Regions from separate parts of the Homo sapiens genome. Here region 2 is linked to region 1. Evidence: promoter capture Hi-C in 16 types of primary human blood cells and fetal thymus (Javierre and others, 2016). All regions are on one chromosome and are shown on one strand. Each heading gives the region's core, a stretch centred on a gene start or on the middle of the fragment in contact. The rest is flanking DNA. Distances are from core to core; before and after follow the strand shown. Region 1 holds the start of CCL19 (C-C motif chemokine ligand 19). Region 2 has its middle 19 kb from the start of RUSC2.

What was found. Contacts are between HindIII fragments. The CHiCAGO score rates a contact against its expected background, and 5 or more counts as called.
Region 2: a fragment that was not itself captured here is called in contact with the fragment with the promoter of CCL19 in region 1 in 3 of 17 cell types (M2 macrophages, M0 macrophages and naive B cells); the score reaches 6.6 in M2 macrophages.

Annotation. Positions count from the first base shown.
Region 1 is chr9:34,689,245-34,695,025 of GRCh38, reverse strand. CCL19 (C-C motif chemokine ligand 19) reads left to right here and starts at 3,750. Exons shown (of 4, transcript NM_006274.3): 1 at 3,750-3,935; 2 at 4,684-4,816; 3 at 5,003-5,096; 4 at 5,187-5,456. The coding sequence starts at 3,887. The coding sequence ends at 5,207. It also overlaps a transcript of PHF24 not described here. The HindIII fragment of the contact is 13,722 bases long and covers 1-5,730 here.
Region 2 is chr9:35,468,024-35,474,393 of GRCh38, reverse strand. It overlaps the pseudogene ATP8B5P. Among named protein-coding and RNA genes, the nearest start is that of RUSC2, 19 kb to the left of the region's middle. The HindIII fragment of the contact is 1,104 bases long and covers 1,308-2,411 here.

The DNA.
Region 1 (5,781 bases), core at 2,501-5,000:
CATTAGCATACAAAAGACACAATCTCTCCCAAGATTCCAAGGATTTTAGGAGCTATATGTCAGAAAAGGAAGATGAAGACCAGATATATATTTCACAATATCACATACACTCAAAAAAAATTTAACTGGAAAGATTTTAATAAAGGGACAATTTAAGAGATTAGGTCAGGATTAAGGAACTAACATGGGATGATAGGCAGTTGGGGTCTAGCAATGGTGAGAAACCATTATCATACAAAGGCTTGAAGGGGCAAGAGGAGGGAACAGTGTTTCCAAAGCCTGTCATCCCAGCACTTTGGGAGGCCGAGGCGGGTGGATCACCTGAGGTCAGGAATTTGAGACCAGACTGGCCAACATGGTGAAATCTCATCTGTATTAAAAGTACAAAAATTAGGCCGGGCATGGTGGCTCACGCCTGTAATCCCTGCACTTTGGGAGGCCAAAGCAGGTGGATCACCTGAGGTCAGGAGTTCAAGACCAGCCTGGCCAACATGATGAAACCCCATCTCTACTAAAAATACAAAAAACTTAGCTGGGTGTGGTGGCGGGTCCCTGTAATCCCAGCTACTCAGGAGGCTGAGGCAGCAGAATCGCTTGAACCCAGGAGGCGGAGGTTGCAGTGAGCTGAGATTGTGCCATTGCACTCCAGCCTGGGTGACAAGGGTGAAACTCCATCTCAAAAAAAAAAATTAGCCAAGCGTGGTGGTGCGTGCCTCTAATCCCAGCTACTCGGGTGGCTGAGGCAAGAGAATTACTTGAACATAGGAGGCAGAGGCTGCAGTTAGCTGAGACTGTGCCACTGCACTAGAGCCTGGGTGACATATTGAGACTCTGTATCAAAAAAAAAAAAAAAAAAAAAAAAAAAAGAATAGAGATAGACCCGTGGAAGGGAGGCAACCCAAAAGGATCACTGTAGATCAGTGGGCCTCAATCTGTAGACCACTTTGGGAGGCCAAGGTGAGCCTTGGGATTCTCCTGCCTCAGCCTCCTGAGTAGCTGAGTAGTCAGGAGTTGAGATGGGGTTTCACCATGTTGGCCAGGCTTGTCTCAAACTCCTGTTCTGGATAAACAAAACTTAGGAAGTTCATTAATAGTACATCTGCCCATAAGAAAAGCTAAAGGGAGAAAGAAAAAACAAAAAACAAACAAAGAAATGCTAAAGGGAGACCTTCAGAATGAAACAAAAGGACAAAAAGTAATAACTTACAGCCACACAAAGAAACAAAGATCTCTGATAAACATAACAACATAGCAGGCCAGGCGTAATGAACTTCTTGGATATGTATATACATACTTTTCATCAGATTTCAGATGTTTTGTCATTATTTCTTCAATTTTTTTAATGCCCTGTTCTCTCTATTCTCCTCCTGAGACTCCTGTGATGAGGTATATTTGATGGTATCCCTGAGGCTCGTTTGGATCTCAAACTTTAGCACATATCAGAGTCACTTGGAGGGTATGTGAAAATGCAGTTTGCTGGACCCCATCCTCAGAGTCTCAGATGTGGTAAGTGGGAAGTAAAATCTAAGAATTCGTGTTTCTAACAAGCTCCCAAGTGATGCTGCTGCTGCTGCCCAAAGGCTACTCTTTGAGAACAACTGCCACAGGGGAAATTATTCACTGCCAGAACTGCAGCAAGATGAAGGATTTGGGGAATTAATACCCCTCTCTCCTTCCACCACTGATCAGTTGCTGCTTCCCATGGGCCAGCCCCAAACAGAAGCCAGAAAGCAGGTGACCCTAAGTAATGCTATCTGCAGAGGTCAGCCTTCCAGGGAGCAGAGCAGGGCCGTGAAGAGTGGAGAATGGATAGGCTGGGGCAAACAGAATAACCAGAACCATCATGGACAGAAGAATGGATAGATCAATGGAAAGAGGGGTGGATGGATGAATTAATGAACAGATACCTGAATAAAAGGATAGAAGGCCAGGCACGGTGGCTCACGCCTGTAATCCCAACACTTTGGGAAGCGGAGGCAAGCAGATCATTTGAAGTCAGGAGTTCGAAACCAGGAGTTCGAAACCAGCCTAGCCAACAAGGTGAAACCTCACCTCTACTAAAAATACCAAATTTAGCCGGGCATGATGGTGGGTGCCTGTAATCCCAGCTACTCAGGAGGCTGAGGCAGGAGAATCCCTTGAGCCCAGGAGGTGGAGGTTGCTCTGAGCCAAGATCGTGCCATTGTACTCCAGCCTGGGTGACAGAGTGAGACTCTGTCTCAAAAAAAAAAAAAAAAAAAGGACAAAAGAAGAACAATGGCTAACAGAGCTTATTGTGCGTCAGCCTCTAAGCTAAGGGCTTTACTCAGGGTTCCTCACTTAATCCTAAGAAGTAGATCTTCTACCATTCCCATTTTACAAATAAGGACACTAAGACACAGAAACTGGAGAATTTTCACCTTGTCGCAGTTAGTAAGTGGTGGAATCTGAATCCCAAGCTAGGCGCTCTGTCTGCAGAGTCTCCCTCCTCTGCACCGTGACTACCCGTGCTGTGCCATGACCAAGTGGCAGACAGGCGGTGTGGAGTGGAGGTAAAGACTGCAAACCCTAGAGCACACCTGGGTCCAAATCATGCTCCAGTACTTACTAGCTGTGTGGCTTTGTGCTCTGAGCCTCATGTTCCTTATGTGTAAAATAAGAATAATAATGTGAAAATAAGAAAAACTACATCAATGGTATTGTTTTGGGAAAGTTAAGCAAGGTAATAGTGGTAAAGTCCTTGACATAGAGCCTAGCACATAGTAAACAATCAAAAATACCATTACTATTATTATGATTAATGAATGGAAAGAAGCTAAGTCAGAAATTTAAGAGGGAAATGTTCCCCCTCCCTCTCTCCATCCAAAAGAGGGTCTAGGGTTTGGGTGACGACGGGTGACTGGGCGTTTCACATTTAGTTTCTCTTTCAAGGCCTTCTCTTCTGACCTTTCTCATAAGGATGGGAAGTCACTTGTCCCCTCCCCCATCGGCCGATTCCTTGAAATTTTAAGATTTGTCTGAATATGAGCTGGCCAGCCCCTCTCCTTAGAAATCCCCTCTTGGTTCCCAGGACTGAGAAAAGGGGGAAAATGAAGGGGGCTATTCCAAGCCAGTCTCCCTCCAGCTGTTCCTTTGACCCAGGTGTTGGACATAGGAAAACAGTAAATAGAGGAAGGGGAGGGTTTGCTGAGCCCCAGAGGCCTGAGATGTGGGATGGGGGTCCTGGGCCTCCTCCCAAGGTACCTGGCCTTTCAGCTCTGCTTGCCCCAAGGGAAGGACTGGTTCCCACATAGTGGGCAGGCACAGTGATGACCTTGGAGGCCACCCCAGGATCTCATGGTTGTCCTGAGGGTGCCAGGGAGCCTTCTTCACCACCAGCCCAAGAAAGAAGCACCAGTGAGGACAAGGGATAAACCTAAGGAAGGGAGCACAGTTCCTCACTGTGGGCCCCACCTTTGACCATCACTTCTGAACCCCAGCTTCATGGTTGATGATGCAAATGCCATCAATGGGATGACAGGGCAATCCCTCTCTCTGGAGAAACAGTGCACAGCCCCCTTTACTGGGCCAGACTGCAGACTTAAGTTCTCAGAGCAGGAGCCAAGGAAAGCAGAAGGAAAGGGCAACCGCAGGGGGAAGAAGGGGGGCAGGGTGCGATTCTGCCAGAAAGAGGGGGGCAACAGGGGAATCACAGAATGGGACATGAAGGGGAATTTCAGGCAGAGAAAGTGAAGCTCTGGCCATAAATAGGAGTCAGCTGCAGGGCTCACATTCCCAGCCTCACATCACTCACACCTTGCATTTCACCCCTGCATCCCAGTCGCCCTGCAGCCTCACACAGATCCTGCACACACCCAGACAGCTGGCGCTCACACATTCACCGTTGGCCTGCCTCTGTTCACCCTCCATGGCCCTGCTACTGGCCCTCAGCCTGCTGGTTCTCTGGACTTCCCCAGGTAAGGCTGAAGGGAGAGTCAGGGTCAGAGGCAGTGGGGGGCTGGCAGTGGGTAATGTCTAGATCTCAGATTGCTTGGCACTGGACGTAAGGGACATGGTGAGTTCAGGCAAATGCTTAGGTCTGTATATTTCGGTGAGCCTGGCAGGTCCCTGCATGTGTGCCTGTAAGTGTGGGTGTCCCTGTGCCCCTGAATCCCAATGCGGGTGTGTCTTTTAGCACATCCTGGGGCCTATGGCTGTGACTGTCTCTGCAAGCTCTATTTCCTGCTGCCTCCGTTTCCCAGGCAGAAGGAGATTTGCTTAAGGTAGGGAGAATGGCAGACACTAAGCCAAGGCTGATATTCAAAAATTTTAGCAATTAATAAGGCTCCTAACACCAGCCTACCCTACCCCACGCCCCTCCCACACTGTGACCTGCATTAACTCTTTACTTGCTGGATTGTCCTGGGAGAGAGGTTGGGGTGATCAGGGCAGCAGGAAGTCATTTGTGGGGCTCAGGGCAGTGGTTATTTACAAAACAGTTTAGAAGTATGACAATATATTTAGCAACCAGTAGAGCCAGAGCCATATTGGTGCATAATGGCTGAATACCAGGTCTAACTCCTCCCCGACCCCACCAGACACACACACACACACACACACACACACACACACACACACACACAGGTGTCCTCAATCCGAGCTAGGGCCATGGCCATGCCACCCTCAAGGGTCCCTGTGTCCTGTCACCTTCTTTCCCCATCCCAGCCCCAACTCTGAGTGGCACCAATGATGCTGAAGACTGCTGCCTGTCTGTGACCCAGAAACCCATCCCTGGGTACATCGTGAGGAACTTCCACTACCTTCTCATCAAGGATGGCTGCAGGGTGCCTGCTGTAGTGTGAGTTGTGGGGAGGGTGTCTAGCCTCATCTCCCGTTTTAGCCCCTGTTGAGACTCCCACCTTCTTATTCCCCTTCTCCATGCCAAGCCCAACCCCTTCAAGGAAATCCCTGAAACAGGTTCCCAGACATGGTCCCCAGGCATGCTGGATTCTGGGGCTCCATTCTCTCCGGCCTCTCACCCCAGGTTCACCACACTGAGGGGCCGCCAGCTCTGTGCACCCCCAGACCAGCCCTGGGTAGAACGCATCATCCAGAGACTGCAGAGGACCTCAGCCAAGGCAAGCCTGGCCCTCCCTGGCCCTGTCTCCTCCCTCTGAGCTCCTGTCTAAGATTCCAGCCCATGATCCTTCCTCTCCTTCCTCCTCTAGATGAAGCGCCGCAGCAGTTAACCTATGACCGTGCAGAGGGAGCCCGGAGTCCGAGTCAAGCATTGTGAATTATTACCTAACCTGGGGAACCGAGGACCAGAAGGAAGGACCAGGCTTCCAGCTCCTCTGCACCAGACCTGACCAGCCAGGACAGGGCCTGGGGTGTGTGTGAGTGTGAGTGTGAGCGAGAGGGTGAGTGTGGTCAGAGTAAAGCTGCTCCACCCCCAGATTGCAATGCTACCAATAAAGCCGCCTGGTGTTTACAACTAATTGATCACAACCTGTTACAGATTTCTTTGTTCTTTCTCCACTCCTACTGCTTAACTAGCCTTAAAAAAAAAAAAAAAGGCACCTGGCACCCATAGATCTGTCTGCTGTCCGTTTGCTGTCTAGCCAGGTGGACAGGAATAGGAAGGGGGAGGTGGAATGGCAGGATCTATTTTCTCTTCTGTGGCCTAGGGGGTCTCCTTGCTCACCTCCACTTAACAACCTGATGCTCTCAGGATCAGCCTCATTGCTTTCCATAGTTCAGCGACACTAAGCTTGGGTCAGTTCCCTGAATGAGCCAGCGTCTCATGCCTCCCACTCTTTGCTC
Region 2 (6,370 bases), core at 610-3,109, 780 kb before region 1:
GTTCCATAATGATTACCAAAATGTCATTTGTAATCGCAAAGGAAAATGGAATAAAAATAAGAAATTAAATAAATTAAGGTACAGTGATACAACTGAATAGTGGACACCCATTCAAAATGATGATGTAGACCTAGACCTACCGACATGGAAAGATGACGACAATAATAGTGTCAAGTGAACAAAAGGAAACTGGAAATAGCATGCATACTATGATTTTATCTCCCCCATCTTCTAGATCTAGATGTACATATGTGTGTGTGTATACACATATGAAAAGCATAGGATATACTCCCCAACTTTACACTGGCTATCTAAATGGGATGGAATAATTTTAACTTTCTTCACACATTTCTGTATTATTTAATTTTTTTTTTTACAGTGAGCATGGATTATTTTTTAAAGAGAAAAAGCCAATAAAGCTATTTTTGTTTAAAAAGAACAAACGAAGATCTTCAGAATTAAACATAGGTCATTTATATAATGCTTTCTGATATTACAGGACCAGTAAAAGCTTTAATATTTCAGTGGCTAAGGGAGTCTCGATTTGTATTAAGGATGCTTCTCTGAAGCACAGCCTCACTCAGCTCCCACATGCATTTCCCATGGAGCTGTAATCACTCACCTCAGAGACCGTCACCCTCTGTCCATCCTTGTCATAAGTATCACCTGTTGGTAAGTGAACACAGCAGAGACTTGGCAAGGGTTTTAAAGGAGGGTTTGAATTTCTTTAAATTGTTGTTAAAAAAATATACATATATATCACATAAAACTTGCCATTTTAACTATTTTAAATGTAAAATGCAATGACATTAATTATATTCACAATGTTGTGCAACAATCACCACTATATATTTCCAACATTTTTTCAGCACCCCAAACAGAAACTTCCCATTTTTTCCCATCACCAGCCCCTAGTAACCTCTAGTCTATTTTTTGTCTCTATGAATTTGCCTATTCTAGATAGTTCACATAAGTAGAATCATAAAATTTTTGTCTTTTTGTGTTTAGCTTACATCACTTAGCATAATGCTTTCAAGGTTCATCCATGTTGTAGCATGTATCAAATTTCATTACTTTTTATGGATGATTCACATTCCATTGTATGTATATGCTATACCACAGTTTCTTTATCCATTCATCTGTGGATGGACATGTGGGTTATTTCTATCTCTGGACTTATGCGAATAATGTCACAATGAACGTTGGTATACATGTATCCGAGTTCTTGTTTTCAAGTTTTGGGGGTATATACCTAGGAATCAAATTGCTGGGTCATATGGTGATTTAAAGGAGGGGCCTTAAAAGCTTATTTATTCTGATTCCTTCATCCTAGACTTGCAGTCAAGATGCCTGCCCCCCAGTCTCCTCAGGCCACCTAGCTCCCAGTTCCCAGTAAGCTCCTTTCCCTAAGCCAATGGTAAGAAGAGGTTTGCTTGGGCCTCAACTCTTCTCCCCTAAGTGAGAATAAGATGAAGCTAGAAGTTAGTCACTGGATCTGTGATAGACTTCACACCTCAGGAAGCCCTCCAATCATAAGAGTTACCCAGAAGAGATGTGGACACAGTTTTAGAATGTTTGGGATTCTTGACCAGTGGATGACAGACTGAATAGGGGTAGAAGACATGTCTGATGCCAAGCATGGAAACACTCATGGTCCTTTTCAACTTTACCCAGTATATGGTCAGGTCAGAGAATTAAGAGGCTCACCCAAATCAGCTCATCCAAAAATAAGCCTTCAGAGTTTATATAAGTGAAAATTTGTTTGACATGGTTACCAAACAAATAATAGGAAATATAGGAAATAATAGGAAATATTAGAGTGCTCTAGTCTTTTTTTTTTTTTTTTTTAGACAGGAGTTTCACTCTTGTCACCCAGGCTGGAGTGCAGTGGCATGATCTTGGCTCACTGCAACTTCCACCTCCCGGGTTTAAGAAATTCTCCCACCTCAGCCTCCCAAGTAGCTGGGATTACAGGCATGTGCCACCATGCCTGGCTAATATTTTTGTATTTTTTGTTGAGATGGGGTTTCACCATGTTGGCCAGGCTCGTCTCGAGCTTCTGACCTCAGGTGATCCGCCTGCCTCAGACTCCCAAAGTATTGAAATTACAGGCGTGAGCCAACGCACCCGGCCTAGCTTTTTTTAATTAAAAAATTTCAATTACTTATTGATATGAAATTTACTTAGTTAACATATAATTATCCATTTTAATGTGTACAATTTAGAGGCATTTAGTGCATTTACAATGTGCAACTACCACCTCTCTCAAGTTTCTAAACTTTTTCGTCACCCCAGAAAGATTATTCCATGTGTTCTAGTTTTTTAGATGTGATTACCTTCCTCTGTTAGCTAGGACACTGGGTATGACTGTTCACACACATGAGGACTTAACTCTATCACAAAAACAAGCTTATGCTTAAGGCATAAGATAAATAAGGGATTGGGCCTGGGAGACACTGATCAAACTCTGACTACCCTTTGATGGTTTCTCTCAATAATATTTATTGCTGTAAAGGGGAATCAAGAAATTAGCAGCTTCAGTAATACATTGACTGCTCCATTTAATTTATTTTTAATTTTATTATTAATTGACAAATACTAATTGTATATATTTATGGATACAATGTGATGTTTTCATATATGTATACACCATGGAATGATTATATCAAGCTAACTAACATATTTATCACCTTGCATACTTATTTTTTTGTAGTGAGAACATTTAAAACTCTTTTAGTAATTTTGAAATATGCAATACATTATTATTAACTAGGATCAACATGCTGTGCAATGGATCTTGAAGACTTATTCCTCCTGCCTAACTGAAACTTTGTACCCTTTGACCAACATCCATCTGATTTAAAGTGGGAGTGAACTGAGTACATAGACATTGGGGACTCCTTGAGGACAGAGACTAAGTCTTGCACATCTCGGTATTCTCAATGCCCAACACAATAGATTGTACCTATAAGATGCTAAATAAATGCTTTTTGGTTAGAACTGTTTGGGCTGGGTGGTCTTTGCTTAGAGAATAGAGACAGTTGTGAGAATAGGAGATAAATGTGAATTCCAGAGGCTTACAGATTTAGAGCTAGATTAGTCTTGAAAACAATTTGCAAAGTAAAAATTTCCCAGGACTTGGGGAAAGCAGGAAGACATGCATATCATAGAGCTTCCCATTAATAGAACATTTGTTGAAAATCATAATGTTCTGAGTCAGAGTCCCTGTTTTGTCAGAGAACACATATTTGACTTGGCCGAGCTCCTCAGTAAGGGTGGTAGTACGAGCCTGTGCTGGTGTGTTCCTTGGTGCATAAAACATCTTCCGATCCCAGTTGATATATAAACTGTTGCCCAATCTTATTATTTCAACACTAAGGAGAAAGCAGAAAAAGAATGGTTCTGCGTCAGAACAGGACAAGCAAATATATCATCCTGGTTTCTTTCTTAGCAGGGCTAAGCATCTGAAAATCAGAGTGTCTTCCTTGGGATTCTACCCTTCTGAAGGACCCTTCCCACCAGCCAACCCATTGTAATGCTGACTTTGGCCATTATCACCCAAGGCTTTACCACCTGGACCCAGATATACTTGATTAACTTTTTTGAGTCATACCTGGCTTTTATTCTTTTTTTTTTTTTCCATAATGTATCCAGGAAAAGTTACAATTTTGGAATTTCTGCAGTAATGCAAGGTGTGATAGAGTAACAGTTAACTTATAAAAGGCTGTGTTGGCCCAATTGGAGGATTATTGCTCCTGTCACATGGGGAAGACAGAGAACCTTGACACACTCAGAGTTTATTTCAGAAGAAGGAAAGAAGCTATGAAAATCAGGAATAGTTTATGGGCTGACCCTCTGATAAATTTCCAGGCAGAGCCAGCCTGCCTGTGGTGTGTCTCCTCCCACAACAACCTCTTCTCATTTTATATAAGTTTTCCCTATTGCCTCTGTCATACTCCTCTTCTGCTCCAAATAGCGTCCATTATAGATTCTTTATGGCTAACAAGCATGTTCATTTTAAAACAGTGAAGACTTTTAAGGGGTCTCCTTCTTATCATCATTCATACTTAATGTGTGTTAGTCTGCTTTATTATAAGAGTGATTATTAGTAATCCCTGTCTGAGACAGCTGCACTGACAGATGGGGATTTTTTCCTTTGAGGTGAGGAAGGAGGTGCTCAGGTCCTCATCATTGACTCATTACTGATAATCTCTATGCCTGGAGTTGGGACCCCTCCCATCCTTTACCATATCAGCCACCATAGCAATCTCTCTAAACCTTAGCACATAGTAGATACTCAATAAATATTACTAAATAAGGTAATCTAGTTACATAGGGTCCTTTTTTTTTTATTGCCAAAAAGCCCCGGTACAGGGTTTAGAAAGCCTGGAAAGGAGGAAACTAAAATGTGTTTGGGTGTGTGTATGTGTAAGGAAATGCAGAACCCAGAAAAGGATGATCAGAGTAGGGTAAATACTTTTTTCAGCTATTTCAAATTTTCATTCAAGGTGCTTATGAAAAAGAGGAAGGGAAACCCTTCCTCTTCTCTTCCACAACTTTTAGGAGTTGAACTTAGGTCACAATTACACCTATCTACCATCTGTCACACTGTTTGTGTGGGAAAATGGATTCTGAATTCTGATTAATTGACTTACAAGTGAATGTTTGGACCTATCTCATTGGTAAACTATGGGCTGCCTGGCCTATCTTCCTGGGGAAACTACCCATGCTTTAAGCATCACCAAATTTGTGTGTATGTTTTCTAGTTATTTCATGTGTTTTTATGTCTTATTTAGCCACTTACTTTATAAGTTATTTGAGGGCAGGGATAACTGTCTTTTTGTATAAACCACATAGTGTCTTCCTAGCACAGTATTCTGGACATGGAAGGCATTTATGCAACCTCTAGATATATCTCAGAGCATTTTGTACACCACCTACTGTGGAGAGTGAGGGGTTAAAGAGCACAAGTGTATGCTTTTTAAAAGTTCACACTCTGGTTGGGGAATTAAGTAGACAGTATGAAGTCAGCTCCTCCCCCACACCCCAAAGTGATCAAAGAAGCCTACCTGACATAGAGGGAAATGGGCACCATGGTATTGAGAATAATGAAGTAGGACCAGAATATGAGGATGGCAGAGACAGCTGATGAAGAGACATATTTTACCCATGGCAGAAAAATCTGGAAGTGGTAGCATTTCTTGTTCTGCCAAATGCCATGCCCAACTGCTAGGACAAAACACACGATGCCTAAAACCAGGAAAATCGATACATGAAAAAAAAAAGAATTAAATTAACATTTTATCCAACATATGTGCTGCTTCAGTTCTACAGTCTAGAGCCTTATCTCTCAGCAAAGCGTCCCTCTCCTAGGAGGGCAGGGAGGCCCTATAGTTCACAGTCTCTAGGCAGCAGTACATAGGACAGAAAAGAAAGTCCAGCAGAAGCCCTCCTTGGGATTTTCAAGGGAGATAATAGTAATAAAACATAGTAATAACTAACCAAGTGCTAGGTACTATGCTAAGTATTTATACATATTATTTAATATTTACAATAATCCTCTTTTAATAATAGATGAGGAACTTAAGAGTGAGAAAGAATTTTGTCTAAAGTCACTTAGCTACTGAGTAGAAGAAACAGGTTTTGAACCAGTTCCAGAACCCAAGCACGTAATCATTCCATTATTGAAGCTGCTTTAACAGAAGTCTAAAACGTGTGGGGCTTAGCAGTTAGGGGGTGGGTGATAAGGAAACTGATATAAAAGGCTGAAAATATGGTAGTCATGTTAACATGAAAGAATTTGATAAAACTGAAAGGTAGACCATATGCCTACTGAACCTGCAGCTCTAAGAGAAGTGGTTAAAAAGAATCAAAATATCATTGTGTATTGACTGCCTTTGACAGGTATTAAAAGAAAGAGTTGGTTGGGTGCAGTCACTCATGCCTGCCATCCCAGGATTTTGGAAAGACCAGACAGGAGGATTGCTTGGGGCCAGGAATTTGAGACCAGCCTGGGCAACATACTGAGACCTCATCTGTACTAAAAAATTTTTTTTAAAGTTAAACTAGGGAAAGAATTAGCCAATTTGTAGGCAGAAATAAGGAGGTACAGAAATTTGGGGCATCAAAGAACTACGACTTCTAGACACTAAACAGGAAGAGATAAGATTGAGACCTTAAGCAAAAAAGGCCCAATAATTGTTTTCAACTGAATAAAGTGACTCAGCCTTCGGGCAAAGTTCAGGTTAAAGGTGATACCTTCTTACCCATGACTATTATTCCGCATAGCCTCAACTTTCTTGCCAGTAAGTTGAGAGAGAAGGGCATGGAGGGGCAAGGAAGCAAAGAAACAGGATAAACTCAAAAACTA